2 separate regions of the Homo sapiens genome follow, and region 1 is linked to region 2. Evidence: promoter capture Hi-C in 16 types of primary human blood cells and fetal thymus (Javierre and others, 2016). All regions are on one chromosome and are shown on one strand. Each heading gives the region's core, a stretch centred on a gene start or on the middle of the fragment in contact. The rest is flanking DNA. Distances are from core to core; before and after follow the strand shown. Region 1 has its middle 13 kb from the start of KRT78. Region 2 holds the start of KRT77 (keratin 77).

Region 1 (5,698 bases), core at 905-3,404, 160 kb after region 2:
TAATGGCCCTTTTACCCATGGTGGCTAACATGATCATGTTCTACAACACACTTTAAAAAATACTATTGGGGGCCGGGCGCAGTGGTTCACGTCTGTTATCCCAGCACTTTGGGAGGCCAAAGAGGGCAGATCACTTGAGACCAGGAGTTCAAGACCAGCATGGCAAACATGGTGAAACCCCATCTCTACTAAAAACACAAAATTAGCTGGGTGTGATGGCGCATACCTCTAATCCCAGCTATTCAGGAGGCTGAGGCAGGAGAATCACTCGAACCCCAGAGGTGGAGGTTGCAGTGAGCAGAGATCACGCCACTGCACTCCAGCCTGGGCAACAGAGTGAGACTCCATCTCAAATAAATAAATAAATAAAAATACTATTGAGAACTCTCTGAGTGCCAATCACTGTGCTGGGCCTGTGCAGATCCTTCATCTTCTTTTATCTTCACCACAATCTGAGATGTGGGTATTATTTTTCCTTGCTCTACAGACACAGAAATAAAGCAATTGTCCAAGATCTCAAAGATGGAAAGAGGCCAAGTTAGGATGAAAACCCAGATCTTCTAAACATACACCGCCCCAATAGTCTTCCCAGGAACACTGTACAGCCTTCATGTAGTATGTATATGTACATGTTTCCTGTATAACAAAGAGACCAGAAGCTTCCCTGGTGCTGGGGGCTATGGGGAGAGCCCAAGGGAGAGGACACCCGCTCCCACTCTGCTGCAACACACAGCACTCTGCTCAGGGATGGGGCAGTGGCGTGTTATTGTTACACAAGGGGCTCTCTGTCAGGGAGGGAAGATAAGTCTGTTCTGTAGTGTTTGCCATTTTCCGTGGTGCAAATATTCCATGGCTGATTTCAAGCTGCCACCATGATGTCACTGAATGCAGAGCTGGGAAGAGATGCACACAATCAGGTCTCCTGAGTTTGCTCAAGCAGGCCCAGCACACCATGGGCCAGGGGTGAAGAAAGGGAGACTGTCCCAGGCTGGGAGTCAGGAACACACATCCAGGAACAAACTGCTGGTGCCTGAGAGAGGAAGGGGATTGGACAAAGCTTCCAACTCTGGGGGACCCTGAGAGGGGAAGAGGGAAGTGTTCAGACAAGAACTTGAGTTGAGAGTCCAGACACACCCATCCAGGGCTTAGTACCCAGCCACTGCAACCCTGACCCAATCAGGTTCAGCCAGTTGGGTGCCCTGCTGCTAGCAACAGCTCCTGATTTGGCAAATATTATGAGGCCTGTTACTAAGGACAGCCTCCCAATACCCCAGAGGGTGAAGAGCAACTTCCAGGGGAAAGTTGCCAAGATTCTTACACCCTGAGGATGTTCAGTCGAAGCTGCAGCAGGAACTCCCGGACTGGGAGACAGGGTGGGGGATTACATGGACCAGCTCCCTCCCACTCAACCATCTCGCCAGCATCTCTCCCATGGCCATCTGAGTGCTGTGCCCTGGGTGTTGGAAGTAAGGTTCTGCCCGTCTTCAAGGAACTTCCATCTGAGAGGAGATCTGTATTTTCAAAACTGCAAGCTACAACCCACTAGTGGATTGTGAAATCAATTGCATGAGTCTTTACCAGCACATGAGTGTGCATCACAGGTAGTAAGGGTAATATTGCACCATGAAATTTTGTTTGGGGTGTGTGTGTGTGTGCGCGCATGCAGAACTGTAATATAAAATGAATTTATTATTAGAGATCACTGTTCAAAAAAAGTTTCAGAAATTCCCTGACAGAGGAAGTGGTACCCACACCCAAACACACACAAACCCAAGAAAATAAGACCAGAAACAGGAGCAGCGTTAGGTGTCAGGACTTGGGGATAGAACATAGAGGTTTAGTCTGGGAAACTTTTCCAAAGGAGAGAAGTAATGAAAAGCAGAGTTAGAAAAGGGAAACAAGAAACTGAGGCATCTCTCCCAATCTATCCTGGAAGGGAGAGGAAATTCTCTTAATATCTAATCTAATCCCTAAACCCGCTGATGTGCTCTTCCCTGAAGCCCACCTACTCCTCAAAAGGAAAACCCACAGGTCCCTCCTCCAGGTAACCACCTTTTCTGGGTCATGACAGTGACACAGCTGGTCGGGGCTAGGGAGGGTGGAGTGAGCTGGGCTCGGGGGCACAAACAGCGGCATGCTGGGCACAGCCAGGCAGGAGGGCCCAGCGCTGCAGGTGCTGGGGCAACACAGAACAATACCAGATTCATGCCTGCCCTTGGGAAACGTAGACTCTAGTTAAGAAGACCAAAGTAGGCTGGGCATGGTGGCTCACGCCTGTAATACCAGCACTTTGGGAGGCCAAGGTGAACCGATCACGAGGTCAGGAGTTCGAGACCAGCCTGACCAACATGGCGAAAGCCCATCTCTACTAAAAATACAAAAATTAGCCAGGTGTGGTGGCACATGCCTGTAGTCCCAGCTACTTGGGAGGCTGAGGCAGGAGAATTGCTTGAACTCGGGAGGCGGAGGTTGCGTGAGCCAAGATTGCGCCATTGCACTCCAGCCTGGGTGACAGAGCAAGACTCTGTCTCAAAAAAAAAAAAAAGACCAAAGTAACACACACCTAGAGCAAGCCAACAGCAAAAGCATCCCACAGGGGCGTAACACTTGCCAGTGCAGAATGGCAGAGCAGTGAGATCTTGCAGATCATCTCGTCCAACACGCTGTCTCACTGCACAAGAAACTGAAGCCCAGAGAGGAAAAGCAACAGGCCAAGGACACATAAAAAGGATGGGACTAGAGCCCACTAGGCCAGGACTCATTTCATCTTGCAATATGGACAGCCTGGAACAAACCCTGAGACTAGGATGGAGACACAGGGAGGGGGACCTCAACACCCCACTTCAGACAAGCTCATTCATACTATTATCCACCCATCGACATTGACTGGGCACTTCTCAGTGCCAAGCACTGTGCCGGGTGCTTCAGATGGCAACGAATAATCCCGTCTAGGGGAGAGTGGAGTGCACCTGTTGCCCTCCAGGAAAGAACACGGGCTCTGTGACCTCCCTGACCTGCTGCAGCCTCCTTTACCATCAGGAAGCTCTCAGGTCTAACCTCACTCCTTTCTGCTGCAACATCAGCCCAGTTTCCCTTGGCCCCAGAGGCACTGCTTGCTGGCCTGACCTGACAGGTGGGGAGGGTGCTTGTATGGCCCAGGGCCCTCTCCCAGCTCCTGAGTCAGCCTGATCCATTGTTCCAATGACTCTGCCTGCTAAGGTGGCTTGAAAGCCCAGCGAGCCCTGCCAGCTGAAGCTTGTGGGTGAAGAAGGGGCAGAGAGAGGGAGAACTGAGGAAGGCTGATGTTGGGTGGGGAAGCAGAGGGGGTAGAACAGGCAGGTCTCACCCACTGCCTGGCTTCTTAAAGTCAAAGTTTATAGGGTTTTTTTGTTGTTGTTTGGTTGGTTTTTTATTGTTTTGTTTTGTTTTGTTTTTCTGTTGTTTGTTTGTCTGTTTTGAGATGGAGTTTTCGCTCTTGTTGCCCAGGCTGGAGTATTGACACGATCTTGGCTCACCGCAACCTCTGTCTCCCGGGTTCAAGCAATTCTCCTGCCTCAGCCTCTGGAGTAGCTGGGATTACAGGCATGTGCCACCACGCCCGGCTAATTTTGTATTTTTAGTAGAGATGGGGTTTCTCCATGTTGGTCAGGCTGGTCTTCAACTCCCAACCTCAGGTGATCCGCCCACCTCAGCCTCCCAAACTGCTGGGATTACAGGCATGAGCCACCACTCCCGGCAGAAAGTTTGTAGTTTTAAAGATGTAGAGGGGGGCTTGGCACAGCGGTTCACACCTGTAATCCCAGCACTTTGGGAGGCCGAGGTGGGTGGATCACCTGAGATCATGAGTTCAAGACCAGCCTAACCAATATGGTGAAACCCCGTCTCTACTAAAAATACCAAAAAGTTAGCCAGGCGTGGTGGTGCAGGCCCCTATTCCCAGCTACTCAGGAGGCTGAGGCAGGAGAATTTCTTGAACCCAAGAGGCAGTTTGCAGTGAGCCGAAATCGCACCATTGCACTCCAGTCTGGGTAACAGAGTGAGACTCCAACTCAAAAAAAAAAAAAAAAAGATGTAGAGGGAGAAGATCCTAAGCCTTGTGGTGCTTCCTTCTCTTTATATAAATAATATTCAGAATTAAAAATGTTAAATCAACAGACAATAAAATAAAATCAGAAAAAAGAAAACTCTTCTAAAATACTGTCACCTAGAAGTAGCCACTATTTACATTTTAGTATTTAACCTTCCAGGTGTTTCTATATACAAATATCTTTCAATTTATTCAGTCAGCGCATATTTATTGGACACTTACTATGTGCCAGGCACTATTCTAACAACGGAGATATAGCAGTAAACAAAACAGATCATTGCTGAGTGCAGTGGCTCATGCCTGTAATCCCAGCACTTTGGGAGGGCAAGGCAGGAGGATGGCTTGAGTCCAAGAGTTTGAGGCCAGCCTAAGCAACATAGTGAGACTCTGTCTCTACAAAAAATCAAAAATTAGCTGGGCATGGTGGCACACACCTATAGTCCCAGTTACTTGGAAGACTGAGGTGGGAGGATCACTTGAGCCCGGGAGGTTAAGGCTGCATTGAGCTATGATTGCACCAATGCACTCCAGCCTGGACAGCAGAGTGAGACCCTGCCTCTAAAAAAAACATAAATAAGTAGAAGGGCCGGGCGCAGTGGCTCACGCCTGTAATCCCAGCACTTTGGGAGGCCGAGGTGGGCGGATCACGAGGTCAGGAGTCGAGACCATCCTGGCTAGCACAGTGAAACCCCGTCTCTACTAAAAATGCAGAAAATTAGCCAGATATGGTGGCACATGCCTGTAGTCCCAGCTACTCAGGAGGCTGAGGCAAGAGAATCGCTTGAACCCAGGAGGCAGAAGTTGCAGTGAGCCGAGATCACGCCATTGCACTCCGGCCTGGGCAACAGAGCGAGACTCCATCTCAAAAAAAAAAAAAAAAGTAGAAGGAATACATTCTAAGATAATGATAAAAAGTAGAGTAAATATACAAGCCAGTAACATAGTCCTTTACTACCATGATCAAGTAATAATATGTACTGTATGTAATTTCATGTGCTATATATTGATACAATTGGCAGCACAGTAGGTTTTTTACACCAGCATCTTCACAAACACGTGAGTAATGCCTTTTGATACATTATGATGGCTACGATGTCAATAGGCAAGAGGAATTTTTCAGTTCCATTATAATGTATGGAACCATTGTCATATATGCACCATACATACAACAGAGACCTTGTTATGCAATGTGTGACCATACTCATGTGTCTCATATAGCAGTATATTCTACTGCAATAGATGCATCATCTATTCATATTAATACGTATTTCCAGGCCCAGTGTGGTGGCTCACTCCTGTAATCCCAGCACTTTGGGAGGCCGAGGCAGGTGGATCACTTGAGGTCAGGAGTTCGAGGCCAGCCTGGCCAACATGGTGAAACCCTGTCTCTACTAAAAATACAAAAATTAGCCAGACATGGTGACGGGTGCCTATAATCTCAGCTACTGGGGAAGCTGAAGCAGGAGAATCATTTGAACCAGGGAGGCAGAGGTTGCAGTGAGCTGAGATCATGCCATTGCACTCCAGCCTGGGTGACAGAGTGAGTCTCCATCTCAAAAAAAAAAAAAAAAAAAGCCAGGCACAGTGGCTCACACCTGTAATCCCAACACT
Region 2 (5,575 bases), core at 888-3,387:
CCGCCCGCTCACACACTGTCCCATCCCCAGCATCTGCTCAGATATCAGAGGCCTGCCCTGCCACCCAGTATGGCCTCTAGCCACAGCTACCCTGCAGTCAGGCCACAGGTCAAGCTCTGGCCTCAGCACTGAACTCCCGTGGGGACTGAGGGAAAGTCACTGAGTGTGCAAGCGGCCTTGGTGCTCTGTGGGGCTTCCCACTGCATCCCTGAAGGCAAAGTTCCTCCTGGGGAGGTGCTAGTGGCCGCTGTGCCTCGACCTCCAGACAAAAGGAGATGCTGGAGGGAGGTCTTCACCATGGCGAGTTCTCCAGCCTCTGCTGCTGCTTTGGACCTAATCTGAAGTTTCAACAGGGAACTAGGGACAGGGGCTTCTGTGTCTCCATCTGGCCCATCCTTGGCCCTTGATGAGCCAAAAGGGGAAACTCAGACAGAACCCTACATTGCATGCTATTGACTTTAGCCCCAAGAGATACCCACCACCAGGGCATTCACCATGCCCTGCCTGCTTCTCCTGCCCTGGCTCTGTGGCTTCATCTCCACTTCTCTCCTCCACCCCTTGGTATCCCATTTTCTCCAGGAATTGTAACTGTTTGAAATTCCCTAAACGCGTCACGCTTTCATGCCTCCTGGTCCTTCTGCCTGAAAATCCCCTCTGCCCTGAGAACCCATTTAACTCGTGCTCACTTCGGCAGCACATATACTAAAATTAGAACCCATTTAACTTTTCATCCGCCTTCCAGACTCAGCAAGCAGAGCTCATGACACCCTCCTTTGAGCTACCATGGCCCAGAGAGTACTACCCCTATTGACACACTTCACATACACTGTAGTAATTCTCTCCCCTTTAGACGTGGGCTCCTTGATGGCAGGACCTGTGTCCTAGTCACCTGTAGCACCTGGCACGATGTCTGGCCTATCATAGATTCTTAGAAAATATTTGTGGGCTAGATGGGTGGATGGATGCATGAGTGGATAGTTGAATGGATTGATGGATGAGTGAATGAACAGATGAACACGTGTGTGTGTGTGCATGTGTGTGTGTGTGTGTATAAATGGATTGTGTGGATGGGTGGGTGGATGGATGGATGGACGGAAGGGTGGATAGTTGGGTGGATTGATGAATAAGTGAATGGATGGATGTGTGTGTGTGTGTGTGTGTGTGTGTTTGTGTGTGTGTGTATAAATGGATTGTGTGGATGGGGATGGATAGATGGGTGCATGGGTGGATGGGTGGATGGAAAGTGAATAATTATGAATGAGAATGAGGGTACTACACCATGTATCTGTTGAGTATTTTAACACTGCTTATCTCCTTTCCTGCCAAAAGGAAAAGATGGAATTAAATCCCTGCAAGAAGACAAATTGAAGCCCAAATGGGTAAATGATTTTCTAAGGTCCCAGGTCAAGCTGAAACAGCACGATGTGGTGAGAGGTGGTAAGGTGTAATCTCTCTCAGTCATTTGGTCAGTGACCAATGACCCTCCCTGCCCCTGAGGTGCTCACCTTGTCAATGAAGGAGGCAAACTTGTTGTTGAGAACCATAATCTGCTCCCGCTCCTGGGTCTTGATCCTCTGAATTTCAGGGTCCACCTCCAGGTGAAGTGGCTCTAGGAGGCTCTGGTTAATGGTCACCTCTTGGATGCCCCCAGGAGGACAATAAGGACCAAAGCCCCCAAGCCCAAAATTGCTAGTCCCAAATCCAGCACCCCCAAAACCACCTCCTCCAAAGCCACCAGCCCCGGTGCTGCCAACCCCAAAGCCTCTGCCCCCTCCAAATCCCCCTACTCCCCCACCCTGGCAGAAACCACTGGTGCTCCTCCCCATTAGATTAATGGAGATGCTTCTACTGCCACCCAGATTGTAGAGGCTCCTAGAGCCAAACCCCCTTCCATGGATCCCATATCCACCACCACCACACCTCCCTCGAGCATAACACACAGAACCCACTGCCGGACTCCCACCACCAGAGCCTGCAGAAGAGCTGGTACTATAAACCCGCCTGCTCATTGAACTAAACGCGGACTGAGAACTAAATTGGTGGCTCATGTTTGCTGGAGCATCCAGAGAAGCAGGCAAGAGAAAGAGCCTGGCAGGAAGGAGGCAGAGACCAGAGAGGAAAGGAGCTCTGACTCCTTTGAAAAGATCTGGCTCCGGCTCTATATATATACACACACACACACATTACTGGGCTGGGCACCTTTACAATCCTGAAAGGGGAGTATTAATGTTTAGTTTGCCTGCCAGCAACATCTGTTTAAAACCTCACACCTGTGAGTTGCAGAAATCAGATTGCAGACAAACTTCCCCAACTCGATCATTTATCATTCATCTCTTGCCATTTAGAGATCAGAATGCAAGAATCTCTCAGGATCTCATTGCTGGAAACTTCTATACAGATTCTCCCCAAATCATCAGTTCATCTCTTCCTAAGAAACTCCACCATCGAGTTGTTTGTTTCTGGGATGTGCCTGGGAGATCTGGGGCAAAGTTAGATGGTGTTTAGAGACCTCAGGACCATAGCTGGGACAGAGGTGGAAACACTTTCTGTCACAGCATCGTCCTGGTGGGGCAAAAGTTTTGTTCCAATCTCCCCACACACTGCTTCTGCTCCCTGCAGTTATCATCACCATGAGCACCCAAAATTTTATCACATGGAAGTGCAATATTGTGGTCACTGAGTACAAGTGGAGGCCCACAGATTCTGCCCAAGGTCATTCACATTGTGTGCTGCTTGATAAGCCTCAGACTTCTCAAACACAAAACCACACAAGGTACTTCAGCACCAAAAGTCTGTGGTTATAGATTTGTTGAGCATCTACCAGTACCTAATATTGTCTTCTAGACCAGAAGACAAACCATCCCTAACTATCTCTCTTTCTGTTTTATCATTTCCGGTTCTTTATAGACAATACTTTTGTAAAATAGAATTAAAGGAATTACCTCCTAAAGATAATTTTTTAAAAAAGATATACAAAATGCAAGCCCAAATTTTTTTTATTTTTAGATTCAGCAAACAAAACATTGTTTAACTGCTAAAAATAGCAACAATAATAATAATTTTCTAAATGGTTACTCTCAAATTCTGTGCTTACCACAAGGCAATAGCAAAGCACGGTAGACCAGCACTAATCTGTGCTCACCCTCTGAGAAGCACGTCCCAGACAGCATCCTGGGGAAAAGCTCATTCAGTGAGCATCAGTGTCCGCCAACAAAAAAATGTGCGTTTTCCCTCTGGACTCAAATAGCTGTGGCTTTCATCCAAAATGTAATAATAATTTTTTTAACTTGGGGAAAAACTCTCCAGCCTTAGAAAAATGGCTAAGCGATGGCTTGCCCAATTGGATACAATTATTTTAAATCATCTTGTTGGAGACTCTGCAGCAGAACCGGCAACCACTTGTGATACTATGTACCATATTAAAGGGAAAGGGCAGACTACATGATGGAGTCTGCGCTGTGAACTCATAAGAATTAAGAATGCAGAAGGCCGGGTGCAATAGCTCACTCCTGTAATCCCAGCACTGTGGGAGGCCAAGGCAAGCAGATCACTTGAGCCCAGGAGTTCAAAACCAGCCTGGCCAATATGGCGAAACCCCATCTCTACTGAAAATACAAAAAATTAACCAGGTGTGGTAGCACACTCCTGTAGTCCCAGCTCCCACGGGTCAGGGGGGCTGAGGTAGGAGGATCACTTGAGCCTGGGAGGTCAAGGCTGCAGTGAGCCCTTATCGTGCCACTGCACTCCAGCCTGGGCAAGAGAATGAGACCCTCTCTCAAAAAAAAAAAAAAAAATGCAGATAAGACAGACTTTGTGAGTAACTAGAAAGTGAGTTGATTTATTTAGAGACTGTGGGAGGAGTTTTCCTAGGTTCTTTTGTTTGTTTGCTTATTTTTTTGAGACAGAGTCTTGCACTGTTGCCCTGGCTGGAGTGCAGTGGCACAATCTTGGCTCGCTGCAACCTCTGCCTCCTGGGTTCAAGCGATTCTCCTGTCTCAGCCTCCTGAGTAACTGGGATTGCAGGTGCCTACCACCACGCCTGGCTAATTTTTTGTATTTTTAATAAAGACAGGGTTTCACCATATTGGCCAGCCTGGTCTAGAACTCCTGACCTCAGGTGATCCACCTGCCTCAGCCTCCCAAAGTGCTGGGATTACAGGCGTGAGCTACTGTGCCCGGCTGAATTTTCCTGGTGTTTTAAATGTCCTTTTTCTTTATGTTCATTGCAATAAATATTTTTTGCTCACGCCTTTAATCCCAGCACTTTTGGAAGCCAAGGCAGGCGGATCACCTGAGGTTAGGAGTTCGAGACCAGCCTGACCAACATGGAGAATGCCATCTCTACTAAAAATACAAAAAATTAGCCGGGCATGGTGGCACATCTGTAATCCCAGCCACTTGGGAGGCTGAGGCAGTAGAATCACTTGAACCCAAGAGGCAGAGGTTGTGGTGAGCCGAGATTGCACCATTGCACTCTAGCCTGGGCAACAAGAGTGAAACTCCACCTCAAAAAAAAAAAGAAAGTTGTGGCAGAAATCCCAATAGAGGTGGGGAAGAACAGGTGGTAGAAACAAGAGCACTGTGGGGGCGCCGCAGTGAAAAGTCATCCTGGTACAGGGAAATGCTCCAAGGGCAATTCCAAGCTTCCACACCCTCTTCTCATGAACCTCTGCATTCCGTACATGGTATCTGTTCAGTGGGTCATCCAGGAGACACTGTGTGATAGAGGAGACAATGAGCCTGAAATTTATAGGCAGAAGCTCTGCTGCTTGCTGGTTGTGTCTAGAGCCTCAGACACTTAAGGAACCTAGAGCCTCTCAGACACTTAAGGAACCAAAGTGTCTATTTCTCAAGGATTCAAAGCTATATATAAGTCATGTGGGGAGAAAAAAGCAGAGCACTGGAATCACTAAACAAGCAGAAATAGCTGCTCACAGATCCTGGTGGGATGACAGCTGTCCTGCTTTGCCTAGGATTTTCAGTACTTAAACCAAGATATACCTGGGCAAATCAGAACAGTTGGTCACCCTAGTCCTAGGCACCTATGGTCCACACAGCCATACTCCTAACCCTAAGGTAAGAGAGGGAAGCCAGGGCCTAGCCTCCAGCACAGAGTGACAAGGAGAGAACCAGTAGAAGCAGAGGAAGGAAAGAGAGGTGAAGCTAGGGAAAGGGGTGGGTTCATGTGAGAAAGCTGCCTGAAGACCAGGATTCTGAGTCAGATATCAGAGGAGAGGCAGAAAGAACAGAGCAGGGGGAAGAAGTAGGGGTCTGGCTGAGAAAATGGGGGCTGATAGGAGAAGGGACAGTAAGTACCAGACAGGAAACAGCAGTGGTGTGGCGAACAGATCCTTGAGTTGGGCATCTTGAAACCCAGCTCTGACTCCTGGCTCCGCCCCCTCCTAGCCCCATGGCTGGGACACTTGACTCCTTGAACCTCAGTTTCCTGACCTCTAAAATAAAGAAAATAGTAACCAGGCGGGCACAGTGGCTCACACCTGTAATCCCAGCACTTTTGGAGGCAGAGGTGGGTGGCTCACCTGAGGTCAGGAGTTTTGAGACCAGCCTGGCCAAC

The links. Contacts are between HindIII fragments. The CHiCAGO score rates a contact against its expected background, and 5 or more counts as called.
Region 1: a fragment that was not itself captured here is called in contact with the fragment with the promoter of KRT77 in region 2 in 1 of 17 cell types (non-activated CD4 T cells); the score reaches 5.8 in non-activated CD4 T cells.

What each region holds. Positions count from the first base shown.
Region 1 is chr12:52,859,073-52,864,770 of GRCh38, forward strand. No RefSeq gene overlaps it. Among named protein-coding and RNA genes, the nearest start is that of KRT78, 13 kb to the left of the region's middle. The HindIII fragment of the contact is 2,198 bases long and covers 1,056-3,253 here.
Region 2 is chr12:52,701,387-52,706,961 of GRCh38, forward strand. It overlaps KRT77 (keratin 77), which reads right to left and starts at 2,138. Exons shown (of 9, transcript NM_175078.3): 1 at 1,506-2,138. The coding sequence starts at 2,048. RefSeq lists an enhancer at 211-380. The HindIII fragment of the contact is 9,521 bases long and covers 1-4,641 here.